2 separate regions of the Homo sapiens genome follow, and region 1 is linked to region 2. The links are contacts of gene promoters, found by promoter capture Hi-C in blood cells and fetal thymus (Javierre and others, 2016). All regions are on one chromosome and are shown on one strand. The core of a region is centred on a gene start or on the middle of the fragment in contact, and the rest is flanking DNA. Distances in the headings are between cores, read along the strand shown.

Region 1 (3,637 bases), core at 869-3,368, 210 kb after region 2:
CTGGGGGAAGGAGGCCACCAGGCACCCTGCCTTCCTGCTGCCTGTCAGGGTGAATCTCAGGGGACCCTGGTGCAGGAGGGGCTGGCTCTGAGCTGGACAGGCCTCTGGGGTTGCCCTGGTGGCCTTCCCTCTCTCTGGGTCAGACGTGCCCAGGCAGGGAGGGTCCAGGCCATGACAGAGCCGGGCCAGCTGGGGACAGGGCATCCCCCAGTGCAATCCTTGTAGCGAACGGGTCCTAGAGTGCAGCTGGCGGGACACTCCCGCCATCACTGGATTTACTGCAGGTGGAGACGGGTTCTGTACCCACGTAGATGAGGAAACAGGCACAGAGAGGGGGCAGCCTGCCCAAGGTCACCGGGGAGGGAGTGGAGAGGCTGGATGCCCTTGGGCCCAGACTGCAGCCTCCCCTCCCCGATGTGCTGCGGCCCCAGTGTCCTGGGCCCCATGTGGCGCCTGAGCCCACAGGTGTCACCAAAGGTCTGAGTTGCGGGGACAAAGGCGGGGACAGGCCCGAGGTGCGGGGACAAGGGCGGGGATGGGCCTGAGGTGCAGGGACAGAGGCGGGGACAGGCAACCCCTGCGGTTCGAGGGGTAGGTGGCCACACGTCAGTCCCTGGGAGGGCCAGGCAGGAGGTGGGCCCAGCGGGGCTGGGAAATGAGGGGCCAGTGCCCCCACGCTCACTGCAGGGGATGTGAGAGGGCGAGTGGTCGCTCAGCCACACCCACACCCGTGTGTACAGGACCCACGCCCGCCCGCCTTGCTGTCCCGCCCGTGCACGGCTCACACAGCTTCTCCCATTATTCAGGCGCTGCCGGGCCCTGCAGGACTCAGATCGTCCCTGTGCCACTTGGCAGGGTCACCCTCACGCCTGCCCGGTGGCCCCACCTGCCCCACCTGCCCAGCTTCTCTCCCTTCTCAGTGCTGTCTGTCCCAGAGCCTCCCATCAATGGGGCCAGAGGGCTCTGGCCCGGCTGTGGGCTGACTGTTCTCCCCAAGATGCCTGAGAGCCACCCGGGCACCGGACTTGCCAACATGCAGGCACACGCAGGCACACACCTGGGCCACACGGCCCTGAGCACACGCCTTGCCCAGCCCTCCTCCGGGCTGTGGTGCGGGTGCCAGGTGCCACCTGCTGGCGGGCTACAGCATCACGGCTCTCGCCCTCCGGAACCTTCCATGGTGCCACACCAGCCTCTGGTCTGGCTGCAGACGGCTTGGGCTGGGCAGGGAAGCTTCCACTGTCGGGGAACCTGGGACCACAGTCTTTGCTCCAAGCGCCCTGGGCGGGTAGAGGCCAGGTCCGGTATGAGGAGCCCTGGTTCCCTGAGGTAGACAGAGCCAGGCAGACGTTGAGGAGACATGGGGGCTGTAGCCCTGGCCCCACTGCCCGACTCTCTCTCTGCATTTCGGGAGCTGGCAAGATCCAAGGGGGTCCCCAAGGCCCTGAGGCTGCACTGAGCACCCCTTTCCTGCTCATTTTCAGATGCAGCGGTGTCCTGGACCCCTGGGGAGAGGTGACCCCCCCAGCAGGAAGCTGGGCCTGGTTTCTGTCCCTCTGCAGCCACAAGGCCTGGCTAGGATGCTGGGAGCACCACACCCTGGAGACTCAGCTCACCAAGGACTCAGGGGCGGGGGCTCCCCTGGCACCTGGGAAGCTGGGCCCCCGGCCCCCTGGACTCCCACCCAGACACCATCTCAACCCAGGTCTGTCTGCTCTCCCCGTCACTGCCCTGGGTTCTCCACTCCTGGACCCGACCCTGGTCCTGGGGCAGTGTCCCAGCTGCTGTGTCCCAGGCCCCCCATCCACTGCCCTTGGCCCACCTTCTATGTGGCCCATTAGAGGGGTGTGGGGGCTGCAACCTGCTTCTGCTGAACCCCTAGGCCTGCCAGGGGGCATCAGGATTCTGCACAGAGAGGCAGGGGACCCGGCCAGACATGCAGGTACCCACGTACCTAATTCTGGGCCTTGGGGCAAGGACTGCGTATTTATCCTGGCCCAGGCAAGTCTGGGGGTGTCTGAGGGGTGGTGAGACGTCTGGGCAGATTGTCCCTGCCCTGCTCTGCTCTGCCCCACCCTGGCCAGCCCTCCTGGCTTCTCAAGGTGCTCCTGGCCACGATGGCACAGTCCCCCAGGCCCAAAATGTGCCCCCATGCTGCCCGAATGCCAGTGCGGGGGCTGGTAGCAACCAAGGCCATGCCCTCCCCTCCCCCTCCTGGGGCACCTGCCCCCACGCTGTGGCCATGGCTCCCTGGCTCCACCAGCTTCTTGTGACCCCTGAGGCTCCCCAGCTCCTGGCCCCCCATGGAGAGTTCCCTCCCCATAAGGGGGGGCCAGACACCCCCCTGTGCCCACTCCTTGGGAGACTGGCATTAGATCCTGGCTGTGGGACAGGCTGGGCCACTCTGGGGGTGAGACCAGGCTTCTCCCACCTGGGGGACCCATCCTGGCTCCGGACTTGGGCGGGTGACAGCCTGGGTTTCCTGTGTCCTCACCGCCCGCTTATCAGCAAGATGGGGATGTGGATGACAGGAGTGCTGGCCACGGAGGGCCTGGTGTGGGTGGCCGTCGGGACGAGGGTAGTGTGGGCGGCCACGGCAGTTGGTGCTACTGCTGGGAGGGGCCGAAGGTGAGGCCCTCCTGGGCTGTGGGTCCCTGTAAGCCACTGCCCCCGTGGGGTGTGCAGTCACCAAGCCGACCTGCTGCCGGGGTTCCGCCCCCTCCCTTTCCCTTCTGCTTCCCCGGCACCTGTGTCCCAAGCCTGAAGCCCTGTCCGTGTCAGAGGTGGCACCTCCCTGGGCACGGGCACTTGGACGCTGGTGCCTCCCCTGCTGCGGACCCCTTTGCTGTGGTCAGGGCCTCCTCCCTGCACTGGCCCCGCCTGTGACCGCAGGCCTGGCGGGGCCCTCAATGGCCACAGAGGGCACAGGCCGGGGCCAGGAGGGCACCGTCTCCTGGGGCACAGATATGCTGGAGTGAGCTATGGAATTGTCCATCAGCAGCGGCAAGCTTTGCTGAGCGCCAGCTGTATGCAGAGCAAAGGCGGGCCAGCCGGGAAGGGCCAGTGAGGACCTGGAGTCCCCAGCATCCCCAGGAGCCTGCACCCCTACGCGGGGGACGCCTGGGCAGCTCCTCCCTCCTCCACTCCCCGCCCTCTCCTCCCCTCCTTCCTGCAGTTCCCACAGCTGTTTGGGTGCCTCCCGTGGCGCCTGGTTGAGCTGCAGGGGGAGATGTGTGTGGACACTGCAACCCTCCCGAAGCTGGGCCTGGAAGAAATGACTTCCCCAGAACCTTATCTGGGCCGGAGAGGGGCGTTGGCAGCGGGGGTCTTGCCGCCTTCCGGTCCTCTGCATGCCAGGCACCACCTGGGGCCGGGCCAGGGCAGGCTGCCTGGACACCATGGACCTGCCCAGCTGTAGGGGAGGTGTGTCCTGCAGCCCTACCCGAGGCCCAGGCCTGCGTGGCTGAGAGGACTGAGGACGGCTGACCCCCTTGGTGACTGCCTGGGCCCAGAGGGGAGTTGGGGGAGTGGTCAGCTGGGTGTGGCCAGCCCTGGGGGAAGGATCCAGGGACTGTGTCCACTTAGGGATAGGAGGCAGCTAGCAGAGCCCTCCCAGCTGACCAGGGGAGGCCCTGTG
Region 2 (4,007 bases), core at 1,496-3,995:
AGGTGTGAACACTGTGCCCAGCTAATTTATTAAATTTTGTTGTAGAGATGGGGTCTCATTATGATGCCCAGGCGGGTCTTGAATTTCTGGACTCAAGTGATCCTCCTGCCTTGGCCTCCCAAAGTCCTGGGATTATAGGGGTGAGCCCCTTTGCCCGGCCTAAATCTGGCTCTTCAGATTCCGAGAGAGAGGGTACAGGAGCCTCTCTGCTCAGCCTGAAGAACACCCAGAAGGAGGGAACCTCAAAGAGCCCCGAGATGGAAGGCTCTCCTGGCAGCGCCTCCTGCAGGGGTGCCTGTGGAACAGGCTGGCCCCAGGGCTAGGAGAGTTCATGGCCCAGTCTGCTTCACTGGGCTGCCACAGTGTGAAAGCTGGGCCTAGACCTGGCTCCTGACATCCTAGTGAGGGCTGGGACCTTAGTGGTTCTGAAAGACCTTTACTGGATGGTTCCTTCCAGAGTGGGGTATCGGATACACACACACTGCGGCCAGGCATTACGCCAGCTCCCGGATGCCTCAGCCTCGTGAATTCGGGGCAGGACGCTCAGGGCCCATGGTCAGCACAGCGGGTGGGTGGGTTCCAGCGTGGTCACTTCTCCAGGGGTGCATAATTGAGCAGCTTCTCGATCAGGTCCACGTGGGCCAGCAGCATCCGGCGGCAGCAGTAGCGCTTCAGGCCCAGGGCATCCAGCGCATCCCTGTGTCGAGGGGAGGAGCAGAGGCCAACTGAGTTCTCTACGGTCTGCAAAGGCCTGGAGCCCACATCCAACCTGCCTCTCACTGCCTGCTGGCCTCACCCCCCCCGCCACCGGCAAGGCGAACAGATTCACCCGGCTCAGAAGCTGAGATCTAGCAGTATGATCCTGGCTGGAGTAACCTGGAAATGCCCAGAACCCTGGGTGGAGCGTGAGGAGCCTCCTCTCCCACCTACTCTGGCTGTACGTGTGTGTGTATAACGTATGTAAGAAATGTAAATGAAATGAAAACGAAGTAATTGCGGGGAGCTTAGAAAACCAAGACCACCAAGGTGCTGATGTGCAGCCACCTCATCCAGCACTGGCCACGGCAGGGTAGCTCTCCAGGGGCCTGCCCTTAGCTGGTTCACCCCCACCCCAGCCAGAGCAAGCCCTGCTCTGCCGCTGTGGGGTCTTTCCTCACCTCTGCTTCCTTCCATCAGAGAGAGACTGCTTCTCCACGGAGCCACCTCTCCCACTTCCCAAGCCAATTAGAAGCTTTCATTTCCCTGGGACCTAGCTCCAGTCACCCTCAAGACCTCCAGAAAACTCCCACACCGATGGCTCCAATGTGCAGAGACACAGAAGCTTGGGAAAGGGGAGGCCACATGGGAGGCCCCTGCCGTTCCTATCCGGGGAAAGGGTCTGGACAGGCCGCCAGCCACTCAGTCTAGCAGCCCACTCGCTTTCCTCGTTTGTCCAGCAAGCTGCACCAAGTGCCGATGGCAGGCTGGCGCACACAAGCCCAGGGCTTCACATGTGACGAAGACTCAGTGGGCGAGGGTCAGACTCCAGCGGGGGCACCAAGACTCAGGCACCGTGGTGACAGCAGCACCAAGGGACAAGCACAGGAGAAAGACGCCTCCCCTACAAAGCCTGATGAGGGTGGTCAGCAAGTCTACCCTGCATTTCTTTTTCTGTGTGTGTGTGTGCGTGAGACGGAGTTTCACTCTCTCTTCCAGGCTGGAGTGCAGTGGCGTGATCTTGGCTCACTGCAACCTCCACCTGCCTCCCAGACTCAAGCGATTTTCTCGTCTCAGCCTCCCAAGTAGCTGGGACCACAGGTGTGCACCGCCATGTCCGGCGAATTAAAAAGATAGAGCCAGGCGCGGTGGCTCACGCCTGTAACCTCAGCACTTTGGGAGGTCGAGGCGGGTGGATCACCTGAGGTCAGGAGTTCCAGACCAGCCTGGCCAACATGGCGAAATCCCATCTCTACTGAAAATACAAAAATTAGCCGGGCGTGGTGGCACACGCCTGTAGTCCCAGCTACTCGGGAGGCTGAGACAGGAGAATTGCTGGAGCCCAGGAGGCGGGGGTTGCAGTGAGCCGAGATCGCGCCACTGCACTCCAACCTGGGCGACGGAGCGAGACTCCGTCTCAAAAAAGAAAAATAAAATAAAATAAATTTCTGGAGATCAGGGTCTCCCCAGGTTGTCCAGGCTGGTCTCGACCTCCTGGGCTCAAGCAAGCCTCTCGCCTCGGCCTCCCAAACTGCTGGGATTACAGATGTCAGCCGCCGCGCCCGCCCGTCCTGCAGCGAGGTTTGCAGGACATGGGGTGGGCCTGGGGGCAGAGATGGGAATAGGGCGGAGGCCAAGGGCTTTACTGCGGGTGACAAGACGCCTGCGACCCGCCAGGCCACCTAGAATCCCCAGGACACCACTGGTTTGAAGCCCAACTCCGTTCTCTTCCCCAGACTTCAGGGGATAAGGTTCTCCCGAAAGCAGATCACAGAGCGGGGCTGGAGAAGCCGGGCCTGAAGCTGCTCATGGGGCGCTGGCCTCAGGCAGCGCTGCGCCTCCCGCCCCGGCGCGCACCCCAGGGCGGACTCAGCCCCCAGCCCCGGCCCGCGCCCCACGGCGGACTCAGCCCCTAGCCCCGGCCCGCGCCTCACCCCTCGGTGTACTCGGCCTGCAGCAGCCCCAGGTAAGCCTCCCACTTGTTGCCGACGATCTTGCCACAAGTGAAGCAGCGTACAGGGATGATCATGGCGGCGGCGCGTCCCAGACTGCCCGGCCCGGCCCGGCCGCACGCGAAGAACCCCCCCAGGCCCCGCCCCGGGCGCGTCCACTGTTGCGGGAGAATCGGCTCCGCTCGTTCTCCGCTGTTCCGGCCGTCCCTCCACCGGCCCCGCCACCGCTGGCCGCAGTTTCCGCCGCGATAGGGGCTTCCCGTGCGTCCCGGGGCTCCTGGGCCTGTGCGTCCCGGGGCTCCCGGGCCCGCGCGGCCGCGGCAGCAGCAGACCGCACACCCCCGCCCACCGTCTTGGTGCATCCCGGCGCTACGGCGTCTGAGCAGGGCCGTAAAGCTGCGGCGGCGGTTCGCGTTTCTCGTGTCCGCTTGACTGACAGCTGCGCGGCGGGAGCGGGCGGCGCGAGCGGGAGGCGGCGGCGCAGGTACTGCGCCTGGGGGTTGTGGGGGCGTGCGGCCAGGGTCCCGTGGCCGGAGGTGTCCGACCGGGAGCGGCTGGAGCCGGACGCGAGCGGGGCGCGCGAGTTCGAGCCCAGAGCCGACACGCAGCAACAAGTGGGGTCCGGCGCGGGGGCTCGGGGAGAGGGCGGGCGGGGGCCGGGGCGGGTCTTCCTGCCGCCCCTCCTGGCCGCGCCGAGTAGTGGGTTCCTCCGCCTCGGCCTCTGCCCGCGGGGTGTCCGGGGCTCTCGGCGCTGAGTTCGGGGGTCCCATTCTGGACGCGGCCCAGCCCCTAGGGGCGCCGCCCTGGCCTCAGCTGCGCAATTACAGCCCCCGCCGGCAGCTCCCCGCCCCGGGCTCCTGTCCGCGTTCTTTCCGCTCTTTCCCGGGAATGGGGTCGGGGTGCGCCCTCCCGGGTCCCGGCTCTGCTGGCTGCTCGCCGTCCCGAGCTCCCGACGCTCAGACGCGCCTCTGAGCACGGGGAGAGGGGACCCGGGAGGGAGGTCGGGGAGGGAGTCGTGGAAGAGGTGCTTTTTGAGCTGAACCTGGAAGACCCCGGCACAGGGGATCCCTGGGCAGACTCCCGGAGGCTGCACTGGCAGGACCCCCTGAAGGCCTCAGCTCTGGCTTGCCCTGGAGCTCAGGGCCTACGGACGACGAGGGACGAGGAGCCCGTGTCTCTCGGATGGAGTGCGGGGGGGCTGGCACCAGCACCCTTCTTGCTGTGCCCCTGGGGTGGGGGTGAGGAAATGGGGGGTCGGTGTGCAGTGAGAGGCAAAGAAGGCTCCTTGGAGGTGCGAGGTGGGCTGTGGGGGTGGGTGGGCCGCAAAGCGGCACCCATGGGGGGCTCTGGGCTGGTTTG

The links. Contacts are between HindIII fragments. The CHiCAGO score rates a contact against its expected background, and 5 or more counts as called.
Region 1: a contact is called between a fragment that was not itself captured here and the fragment with the promoter of POLR2L in region 2, in 8 of 17 cell types (fetal thymus, endothelial precursors, naive CD8 T cells and 5 more). The highest score is 6.8, in fetal thymus.

Annotation. Positions count from the first base shown.
Region 1 is chr11:1,050,139-1,053,775 of GRCh38, forward strand. LOC124902605 reads left to right here. Exons shown (of 4, transcript XM_047427955.1): 3 at 1,485-1,705. It overlaps LINC02688 (long intergenic non-protein coding RNA 2688), which reads left to right. Exons shown (of 4, transcript NR_160890.1): 2 at 1,485-1,705. Among named protein-coding and RNA genes, the nearest start is that of LINC02688, 2.1 kb to the left of the region's middle. The HindIII fragment of the contact is 1,775 bases long and covers 1,232-3,006 here.
Region 2 is chr11:839,784-843,790 of GRCh38, forward strand. POLR2L (RNA polymerase II, I and III subunit L) reads right to left here and starts at 2,746. Exons shown (of 2, transcript NM_021128.5): 1 at 2,631-2,746; 2 at 1-697. The coding sequence starts at 2,725. The coding sequence ends at 589. TSPAN4 (tetraspanin 4) reads left to right here and starts at 3,069. Exons shown (of 9, transcript NM_003271.5): 1 at 3,069-3,132. RefSeq lists silencers at 230-279, 2,508-3,137, 3,248-3,337, 3,358-3,587, 3,573-3,741 and enhancers at 1,005-1,749, 1,750-2,495, 2,496-3,239. The HindIII fragment of the contact is 22,784 bases long and covers 1,320-4,007 here.